Regions from separate parts of the Homo sapiens genome. Here all the other regions are linked to region 1. The links are contacts of gene promoters, found by promoter capture Hi-C in blood cells and fetal thymus (Javierre and others, 2016). All regions are on one chromosome and are shown on one strand. Each heading gives the region's core, a stretch centred on a gene start or on the middle of the fragment in contact. The rest is flanking DNA. Distances are from core to core; before and after follow the strand shown. Region 1 holds the start of ZSWIM2 (zinc finger SWIM-type containing 2). Region 2 overlaps CALCRL-AS1 (CALCRL and TFPI antisense RNA 1). Region 3 overlaps CALCRL (calcitonin receptor like receptor). Region 4 overlaps CALCRL-AS1 (CALCRL and TFPI antisense RNA 1).

The links. The method cuts DNA at HindIII sites, captures the fragments that hold promoters and counts their contacts. A CHiCAGO score of 5 or more calls a contact.
Region 2: a fragment that was not itself captured here is called in contact with the fragment with the promoter of ZSWIM2 in region 1 in 1 of 17 cell types (M2 macrophages); the score reaches 5.8 in M2 macrophages.
Region 3: a fragment that was not itself captured here is called in contact with the fragment with the promoter of ZSWIM2 in region 1 in 1 of 17 cell types (monocytes); the score reaches 5.8 in monocytes.
Region 4: a fragment that was not itself captured here is called in contact with the fragment with the promoter of ZSWIM2 in region 1 in 2 of 17 cell types (M1 macrophages and M2 macrophages); the score reaches 5.5 in M1 macrophages.

The regions. Positions count from the first base shown.
Region 1 is chr2:186,847,725-186,850,424 of GRCh38, reverse strand. It overlaps ZSWIM2 (zinc finger SWIM-type containing 2), which reads left to right and starts at 1,255. Exons shown (of 9, transcript NM_182521.3): 1 at 1,255-1,459; 2 at 2,630-2,700. The coding sequence starts at 1,295. The HindIII fragment of the contact is 8,021 bases long and covers 1-2,700 here.
Region 2 is chr2:187,314,461-187,317,160 of GRCh38, reverse strand. All of the region lies in intron 2 of CALCRL-AS1 (CALCRL and TFPI antisense RNA 1), which reads right to left. Among named protein-coding and RNA genes, the nearest start is that of CALCRL, 130 kb to the left of the region's middle. The HindIII fragment of the contact is 3,016 bases long and covers 1-2,700 here.
Region 3 is chr2:187,348,350-187,351,049 of GRCh38, reverse strand. All of the region lies in intron 14 of CALCRL (calcitonin receptor like receptor), which reads left to right. All of the region lies in intron 2 of CALCRL-AS1 (CALCRL and TFPI antisense RNA 1), which reads right to left. Among named protein-coding and RNA genes, the nearest start is that of CALCRL, 99 kb to the left of the region's middle. The HindIII fragment of the contact is 2,277 bases long and covers 245-2,521 here.
Region 4 is chr2:187,298,101-187,300,800 of GRCh38, reverse strand. The region is part of intron 2 of CALCRL-AS1 (CALCRL and TFPI antisense RNA 1); the gene reads right to left. Among named protein-coding and RNA genes, the nearest start is that of CALCRL, 150 kb to the left of the region's middle. The HindIII fragment of the contact is 2,959 bases long and covers 1-2,700 here.

The sequences.
Region 1 (2,700 bases), core at 6-2,505:
TTAGTAAATTAAAACCTTAGACCTTAGACCTAAGACTTTAAGGGTTGGATGATGTTTATCCAGGTGTCTCACCTGTGAAAGCTGCCATTACCATCATCTTCTTTCATCTTTTGCCCTTGCCATTTTCTGAGAACTCTCCTGCTGTTGACATAATCTAGTTATGATTTCTGCCCATGATAAAATAGGACAAATATGCTCTATCTTTGGCCACCAAGGCAAAGGTTACTGGACCTCCAAGTAGTGCTATCTCCTGCTTTTAATTTCCTATAGAGATTCTAGTAATGTGGCTTCTTTTTTCAGTAATTATGACTCAAAATGTTGACCCATACTTTATTACAGTTTTCCCCCTAAAATGTGGTAAACAAACCTCAGAGACAATTTAAATTATTGGAGGTACAAACATTGCATACCTTGAAACTCTTATTCCTTAGTATACAGATTTGTAAGTTTCATGTACCCATAGTCAATGGATTCTGTGCCACCATTCAGGACGTACCACCATCCACCATTCTGGCTGTACCATCCCCAACACCCACCCCTACCCAAACATGCAATTAAAAAATGTTCCCTCACTTGGAAGACCATTTCCCCTCCAACACACACACACACACACACACACACAGAGAGAGAGAGAGAGAGAGAGAGAGAGAGAGAGAGAGGCAGAGAGAAATGACTTAAGGATCTGGTTTCCTCCCAAGTAGCTGGGACTACAGCCGGCGCCACTACCGGTGATGCACTTCCTAGGGTTTAGAACTCCTGTCTTCTACATCTTTCCCCCAGAGACTCAGTCAATCTATGCATATAGTGAGCAATCAGAAAATGTTCGTGGAATATTGTGGAACGTCAAAAATCACTCTGGGCTCTGTAACCTCGGCTTTCTGTTAAAGATGATGAATCATCACAGGATAATTTCAGCATCCAGAGCCCAGACTGCAATCGGGTTTGCAACTGTCCTAACAAGTAGATTTCACCATCTCTGCCCCGAGGAAGCAGAAGGAACGCAAGAAAATTGACAGCTATGCCTTCGGCCTCCAGCTTCCAAGTCGGCCAGATGATTATTAAAAACACTCCTCAGTCAAGGGCGTCGCTTCGAAACGCAGTGGAGGCTGGGGAGAGTTGCAGAATCCATGCCATCCCGCACCTTTGTCGCCCGCTCTTCTTCGGCGCAGGGCACACCGGGACACCCCGAGCCCAACCACCGTCACCAAGGCAACCAGCCTGCACGCCGTCGTCTTGGAGACCGGCTGGCGCCTCAGTGAGCCGAGCAGAGGGGCCGCCTCCGCCCGCACCCAGCATGCTTCGCCGAGGCTATAAGGCCTCTGAAAGGCGAAGACACTTGAGCGAGAGGCTCAGCTGGCACCAAGACCAGGCGCTGAGTAGCAGCATCTACCTCCTACGAGAGATGGGCCCCACTGGCTTCCTGCTGAGGGAGGAGGAGCCGGAATACATGGATTTCCGAGTAACTACCGCCCCTACCGCCCCCAGTTGGCCATCATCCCCGCCCACCAGGTTCCCCCACTGGCATACCCAATGTGCGTAGCCACCATCACAATCTCTGCGGATACTTGCTGCCTCACCCCCGAAAGCGCCTTCCCACGAGTGTTCCAGACTCTAAAATACGTGAAATTACAGAAGGAAATAGTATTTATTAGAAGTTTCTTTTTTGGAGGTTAAGACCAAACTGCAACTCTTGTAAAAGATGATGGCTCTTGATCTTTAGGCTTGAAAATGTCAGAGGCGTATGAATACCTGGTTGGCATTACATGTGTTCTTGGATCTGTTGTTAGTGGTCCTTAGTCCTGTAAATCAAACGAAATGAAAATTCTACAATCTGCTAGCATACTGTAAATATTTTCTAAATAAATAAATAGGTTTCCCTTTACTCTTTGCTCACTCTGAAACTGTATGAAGGCCCTATTAAAGGATGGTTTAAATGGCAATACCTTGGAAAGATATTAATGAATAAAAATTCAAGTTTACTGAAAGACCACAGATATTTCATAATTGCATATCCCATCCTTAACCACTCAAAAATTAGCCACTGCACTACCTCCTAGGAGTTGACTTACAAAATTTTACGTTAGTGCCGTGAAGTTTAAGAATTGAATGCAATTTACTAGTCTGTGCTTATTTAAAGCATCTTTTTTTACTTTGTTGCTTCAATACTTACTGTATTTAATAGTTTTAGCCAAACTAGTCTTGGTGAATAAATTTTGTCCTCTTGAATAAAATTAAATAAATTCACCGACTCAAATGCACCAAACAAAAATCCAAAATGAGCTACCTTACAAAAGGTGCTTAGCTCCACCCCAAAGTAGAATTTCCTTACTGTGAGGAATTTATGGGTTGATATTTGCTTTTTTTCTTCTCTGACTTTGGGAATTAGATTTATTTTCACCTGCCTAAGGGCAGGTCACTTTAAAACCATCCTAATTTGTTAATTTGCTAACAAAGATAAATAATGAAGCCTAGAGACTAGTATCAAGAATTAAGATTCTCCAGTAGAATCTATTCAACCTTTTTGAATCACCTAAACTAAATTACCTCTTCAAATCTCTTTTATTAACTCAGTTTTGCTCTAACTCTCAAATTTTACTGGTCTTTTTAAGTATGCATTTTTCCTTTAAAGGTTTTTCTAGGAAATCCTCACGTTTGTAACTGTTCCACATTTCCGAAAGGAGGGGAACTTTGTAAGCATAT
Region 2 (2,700 bases), core at 171-2,670, 470 kb before region 1:
TCATTTTTAACCTTTTCAAGTACAAGGGAGGATGAACAGATACTAAGTAGTAAATTATAATAGCCAAGCACTTGATTAATTTGATATTTTTCTCTTTCACATGACATGAAAAGAAAAAAATATAGCTCTGAAACTTGTATTACTAACTTTTGCTTTAATTATAATTTTTCTGTCCATAGGAACCACTTTTGAAAGTGATTGTTTTCAGTTACATCAAAAGATTAGTCAGTGTATCTGTCAGGAAAGGAAAAAAAATCTTTATCTTGGTGAAAATATTTGAAACTGTTAGACATATCAATTTTTTTTTTGAGACAGCATCTCACTCTGTCGCCCAGGCTGGTAAGATCATGGATCACTATAGCCTCAACATCCTGGCATTCAGTAATCTTGCCATCTCAGCCCACGGAGGAGCTGGAACTACAGGTGCACACCCTCATGCCCAGCTAATTTTCGTGGCTTTTTTAAAAATTTTTTTCTTTGATAGAGACAAGGTCTCATTATGTTGACCAGGCTGGTCTCCAACTCCTGGACACAAGCAATCCTCCCCCTTGGCCTCCCAAACTGCTGGGATTACCAGCGTGAGCCACCACACCTGGCTTCAAATCTTAACAAATCTAATAAAAATCATTGATACCCCTGGAAAGATTTTATAGTACAGTATCACTTATAGTCAAACTGTAAGCTGTTTGTTTCCCAATTAACTGAACTGTGGAGCAAGCATACTCTAAAGGAGTTTTAGAAAACTAGTTGCTTTTCTGGATCCCTGGTAACAATTTATGAGAAGTAAAAAATACAAGAAAATAGAATGAATCAGAAAGTAGAGGAAGAGGTGAAAGTGAGGAGTTTCAAAAGAGAAGCAGGCTGGATCACACAATGTTTAGCTGCACAGGATTTTCAGTTAGAAAGGCCAGCATGCAAATCATAGTTCTGTCATTCCCCACCTTAGTCAAGTTGCTTAACTTGCTGAGTCTTCATTTCTTTTGTTATTCAGCAAGGAGGAAAAAATAACCATTTAAATAAATTTTGTATTAATTAAATCAGTTAAGATATTTATAATGCCTAGTGGGATATTAAATAATGAAGGACATTTCGAAGAACATAGTTTTAGGATTAGATTTGTTAAACAGCTACTGTGTATTATATATTTTAATAAGCACTTTGTTATATTAATAATCACCATTTATTATTATTTTATATGCCAAGCTCTTTCTTAGCTATTTCTTAAATATTAGTTTATTTCCCATTAATGTACAACTTTGCAAAGCATGTATTGTAATTCCCAGTTTACTTATGTGGGAGTTAAGAGAATTTAAGTCATTTGTCTAAGAGTCATATAGCCATAAGTGAGAATGTGAGAGATTTTATCTGAGACTAGAATTTTATATTAATTATAACTGAATACATCATTTGTTTTTAAGTACTACTAGTTAAAATATGAGTGAAACATTTGTGTTCCTAATTGTTAAATTTAAAAGTTCAATTGTACAATTTCCATTTTATCCGAGAATTTTAGGTAATAATGTGTGGCTGCTGATAATGGGTGTGTGTGTGGTGGGGCGAGAGGGAACAGGGGTGAAGATCAATGGGAAAATTTTCTGTAGAAATTTTATTTCAAGTATCTAAATATTAAGTAACCACTTTGATAGAGATCCTCATTTGGTTCACGTCTTTGATTCATTAAGAGGTTATAGACCAGAAAATAATATATGTATATATTATATACATATATATGTATATATATAATATATACATGAAAATAATATATATGTATGTATTATATATATAATACATACATATGTATAATATATATTATATATTATACATATAATATATATTATAATAATATGTCATATAATGAAACACATATTTGATAGAAACATCATTTTTAAAAGAAGAATGCAGTGTAAAGACTGAATGTAACCATGATCATCTACCCATAATGAACTACTTTGTGAGTAAAACTGTTGATAGAATAGACATATCCTAATTTCAGTGCAATGTACGTGATGATAAGTATTACAGAAATTTGTGTCTCAAGCCGAAGTACATAGAAGACCTTTCACAAATGGTTGTTGAATAAATAAATGAATGAATGAATTCAACTGTTTCACCCTACTGCTTCTGCCAAGGTCGCCAATATTCTTTTACTTTTTGGTCTCTGAAGAACTTACTAAATCTGGTGACTTGACTTCATGAAACTCTCCTCCTTAACTTCTAAGACATCACTGAATTTTTGTTTCCCCATCTCCTTTTGTGATCATTTCATCACTGTCACCTTTACTGACTGTTCCTCTTTTACACATCTCTTAAATGCAGGTTATTTACTGGATTCCCTTGCTCACCTCCTCCAATTATAGTCACTCTCTCTGGGTGATCCAAATCAGTGTCATGGCGTCAAATATCATACTTATATTGAAGAAAGAGAAAGAGAGAGGGAAGAAGGTAAGAAAGAAAAAGAAAGAAAGAAAAGCAGGATTAGCTGTTGGAAAAACCAACCTAATATCCCAATGTCATCTCATATCAATATGTTTAAAATAGAACTATATACTTTTCCTACTGATATTGATCTCCCCCAGTATTCTACATTTAATGGGTGTTACTGTTTTCTGTATTTGCTTAAGCCCAAATTTTAGAAATCCTCTTACATTCCTCCCTTTTCCAGAGTATCTATGTTCAATTAATCTCTATAACTATTAATTT
Region 3 (2,700 bases), core at 134-2,633, 500 kb before region 1:
CCTCCCAAAGTGCTGGGATTACAGGCGTGAGCCACCGCGCCCAGCCAACATATTTCTTATGCATACAAATGTGTTATAGCTCAGTAATCTGAGCTCTATTGACTTAGCTCTTTATATGTTTTTAATCTGCTCGACACAATTTAACCTGTAGGAGGATTTTGGCAAAATTGAACAAAGTTTAGAAATCCAGACAGCAGCTGAGTGAGACACAGACACTTGATAATGTGAAGCTTATCATAAAGCTTCAGATGGGGAACACATGGGACCAGTTGGTATAACCTATGACAACCATTCCTATAAAACAAATGAACATTGGAAATCATGCACACATCATGAAAAACTATAACATGTTATTTGCGCTTGCTTAAGTAATATTTTTACTTCCTCATCTTGACATATAATAAAACTCAATGTTTAGTTTTTAATTAAAATATATCTCAAGTTCAACACGTATTTATTTATATTATTATTATTTATCTATATTTATTTATTTGTAATGAGGTGTAGAGTTGCCACACATTGTAGACTATATTTCATACATTTAAGTGGTACTTCCATAATTCTTCTGCTATACAGAAGACAAGAGCAACTTTTTCTGAAATCAGAGAAGCATAGACAGAATGCAGTTACAAAAAATAGATAAATCATTTGTTTGATAGTAAAATTCAAATAGATTTTATTATATACCTCTATAAATTTAATGTTATATACACTGAATTAGACAACCCTAAATGCTACTTGTATAGGATGTAATAATTAAATATAGATGAGAGTGATATGGACAACATGCTAAAGAACATGCATGAAATAGGAAAGGTAGACCTCTGTATCTACAGAAACAGATTTTAATTCCATGAACTAATTTTTAAATATTCAAAACACACTCACTAGTAAAATATTTTGTAACAGGAGGCAGTGTAGAATAAACACAGCAATGCATTTAATCACCAAAGATGCTACTTTTCATCTTGGCTGTGATATTTTGGCAAATGCTGGCAAATTTCAGGAGCCTGTGTCTATCTTTCTTAAAGGGAAATTAAAGCAAGTTCTCTACACAGGTCTCAGAAAAATAAATACAAGCTAAGAAAGATAAAGTTTTTAGCACCATGCCCCACTTCATGAGATTCTCAGTATACTTATTATTTGATTTGTCAAATCACTTATTTTCAAAAACACATGTGCCAACAGGAACATTAATCATTTTGGATCAAAATCCCAAATTGGCTCTTTTATTTAGAAAGAGTGCCCAGGGAATATCTAAAGTAATGCCTAACACTCCTGTTACACTCGATCTGTGTAAACAAAAGGGACACAGAACCTTGATCTTCTGCCATGTCCTAAAATTGAGAAAATTTTGACATTGGAAAATTACAATAATACACAATGTTTGAGCTAGGTTGTTCCCAAATCTTTCAGTTCCTCACAACATTTCTAATATCTGTTCCTTTTCTTCATCTCTGGAGATACAATCCCTGTTTCAGTATGATTCATTTCTCTTCTTAAGAAATACTGTGATCCCTCCCTTTTTGTCTCAATGCCTCTTACTTTTTCCCACTCTCATAACATGAAGAAACAACTGCCAAATTCATTTTGTTCCAACTATGTCATGTACTTCTTAAAATCATTTGCTCAGGCTTAGTTTCCTTCTTGTTTTCCACATTAGGTCAAATGCCTGCCTTTAGCTTAATATTTGTGTTTTTTTCTTTCCCACCTTTTATGCACTTTTTAGCTAACGTCTTGCTATTAGCATTTCTCACTAGTTAAATAAATGTGGCTTGACAAGTGCTTGGATTACTTTCATTTTATCCCTAGTGCCCTCAGACAAAAATGTGCACTGTGATCATAAACTAGGGACTCTAGTCATCAGAAGGTTATATTTAACAACACCTGAGGGTAGATATTCCATAAGATGAGCAAAAAGTTTTGTTGAGGACAGACAATTAAACCCAAATTCTTTCATGAGAACTACGTAGAATTTTTATAAAAGTTTCGTAAATATTTTAAATTGATTCCCATTAAGGAGTATAAAGTTAGTTCCTTATTGGGTGTTAATGGGTATATAAAGTTGTAATGTTACATTCTAAACATTTGCCTTACTACTTATACATGGTCATGCATAAAACAATAAAAACATTCATATCTTTAATAACACCCAGCTATCTTCCCTTACAATGGAAATTTGCTCCTACTGATTTTTTCTCATTAAAAGTTTATTAAGAGTAGCTGCTTTAATGTCGTATTTAACAGGTGTGATATTGTATTAGAGGAAGCAGAAGAAAAATGTAACATCCTTAGAGCAAATAACATAAACAAACAAGTCTACAAGGCCTGTGGATCTTTAATTAGGTTTATTTTTAACTATAGTAAGACCTCACAGTTCATGAAATTGGCTTTCTATGGTTTTTCTGATGATTTAGTTGCAAGGAAGAAATAGAGTGATGACCTTAATCAAAGTAGATATTTTAAGAGCAAACAGTCATATATTTCAATAGCCATTTTCCTTCCAAATTGAATTTAAGCTTTCCTTTTTAAGACTATAAGTACTAGACTCACAGCTAAGATATTACTTCCTCTCAGCTTTTTCTCATACTTTATATAGAATTTTTTATACAAAGCTATATGCCACTTCCCCTCAACCAGAAACTATATTGATTACATACTCAACCAATTCAGCATTTAGTAACAAAATTAGGAGAAGTT
Region 4 (2,700 bases), core at 46-2,545, 450 kb before region 1:
ATGTAAACAAGTGTGATAATAATTAGAAAGCACTGAGTGTGACTCAAATAATTCAGAGAGTAATCCAATAATTAAAATAACCTACAAAGTAAATATTTACATTTTGTGAGTGCCAAGGGAAAAACGTGTTTATTAGTAAAAAAGAAACCAAAAGGTTTTAATCTGGTAGGAGCAATTTTCTCTTTTGTCATTAGGGCTTCGAAAATAATAGAGGGCAAGGGAGAAGATGGATAGGTAAGCACTTGTAATGTGTATTTTAATTGTGGCTTTCTGATTATGCCCTTGTGCAAATATTATTAAAACAGCAGAAATGTTTAAAGTCCTGAGCATTGGCAGTTTTTTGACAGGCTTATGGGAACGATAGAGCTTCTTAGGACTTACTTCCTCTAATAATAAGGCCCCAATTCAAAGAATCCCTCTGTCATTGCAATACAAAAATACTTGTGTTAATTTTGGCTGTAATGATCACTTTAGTTACAAGTAGACAGTGAACTATAATTTGGTTGCAAAATGTTATGCTCTATGACAGTGCAAAAAACATATTCATCTATACTGAGGTAAGTACTAATAACATACTCATTCAACAAAAATGCTGGAGAGCCAAAACACTATTCTACATTTACCTTTGGAAACAACCTCACTACAAGACGGGGAGAAAAGATATATCAACCAAAAGTTTAATACAATGTTTTAAATTATACAAAGGAAATATATATAAAATGCTGTAAGTGCATCAAATAGGAAGAAGGCAGTAAGACTACAAATAGCAATGTTATTAGTAGATCATTCTCAACTTTAAATGCCATACTAATAACTTTGGGCAATGAAGAAATATCAAAAGGTTTGTTTTCCAACGGGACAAATCTCTTTTAGCCATGTGAGTTCTCACACTGATACAAGCATGACAAGTCATCTTTAGTCAGGAGGAATGCTATCCAAGACTTCAGAATTAATCCCCACAATCCCATCCAAAAGCTATCATGTATCCAGACTCTCAACCTGTCCCCTAATTCTGGCTTCCTGCTGCTCTCCTTTTGCTGTGATACTTGGACCCTGCTCTTGGCCTTTGTTCTTTAGACTGAAACCTTAAAGACTCTCCCTCTGCTCAACCTGACACTCCTCATGCTCACCTAGACTGGGTTATCTAAGAGTAGTCTTGGCTCTGGTCTCTCCTAGTAGTTCCTTCTTTGAGTATTGTTTCCCACACACAGTATCTAGTTATCCATGCCATGGAGAATTGTTTCAAAGATTAAAATGTGATAATGAGAGTGAAAACAATACTGCTTTTATATTCTTATAAAATTTTATATATTATATTGGCTACTGCCCTTGGTACAAAGACAGTGGATTAGTTTCTTGGTTCTCCTACACTTCTCTATTGCTAAATGTTGCACTCACTCTCCAGGGGTCTTTAGTCATACTCTTCATCTCACATCAGGGCACTTGGTCAAGTTCAGATTTTTGGCCTGGGCTGCACTTTGCTGCCCTCTTCTGATACACAATCATTATGCTTTTGATTTGACAAACTAACCAATTTTCAGATCTCTGTGGATTTAACCCTTTTCAGGTTTCTACTATCTATCACCATTTTTAATATTCCTGCCTATAGCAATTATTGCTCTTTCTATAATATTTAAGCAGGCTGAAGATGAATACTTACAGGATAAATTACTGTAACTGCCTACATTTAAATTAATGGCAGCAATAAAACTTGTCCTGTGTCCATGATTATCTCAACTATGCCAAATTATCAGAAATGATCAATAACTAAAGGAGGATTCAAGTTAAAAGCATAGCTATACACTAATTACCATAAACACATATTTTTCTTATTTGTTTGCAATAAAACCTTCTGATATACCTATTTATTCATTCATCTGCTCAACAGATATTTATGTTTGTTTTGTATCTGCTTCTATCCTGTAGAATGGATACTTTATTTATTCATTCACTCAACAAAAATTTATGTTTGCTATATTTCCGCTACTAACCTGGAGAGGCACTGACTCAAATAACTTACAGTCTAGTGGAACAAATATTTGCATTTCCAAAAGTGGTACTGGGGGTCTGTGAACACATTTTAGAGGAAGACTAACTGTGCCTGCAAAAGTCAGAAGAAAAAGCCTTTCTGCATACTTATAGTATATTATCAAGAAAGAATGGAAGATATAAAAACAGACAAAGGAGGGAAAATCATTCTGGGTGGAAACAATGGCAGATTCAAAGATATGAGGGCATGACATGGAAAGAAATTATTATTTAATGACTATTACATAGAAAAAAATTCTGAGAAGGACAAGTAATAAGGCTGGAAAGAAAGACATGAGTCAGATCACAAAGGTACTTAAATTCTTGGTAAAAGATCTTAGATTTAAACCTGTAGTCAATTAAACAATAGGCAGCCATTAAAAGAGTTTTAGTACAAGAGTAGCGTGGTTGAAATTGCATTTTGGAATTAAATACCTACTTCTTGACTTATGTACTGAAGTAGAGGATGACATGACAGTGGCAATTAGACTAGGGTTGCCAAAAGCAAAATAATTAGGACACATTTGGAAAATATCTTGAGTTTTAAGTAGAACAATGTAGAAAGCCATAACAAGATGAGAAACCAGAAGCAAATACTGTATTTTGACTACAGTGCAATAATGAACAGGAGATTTGGAGCTGTTAAAAAAAAAGCCATGTTCAGACATATCC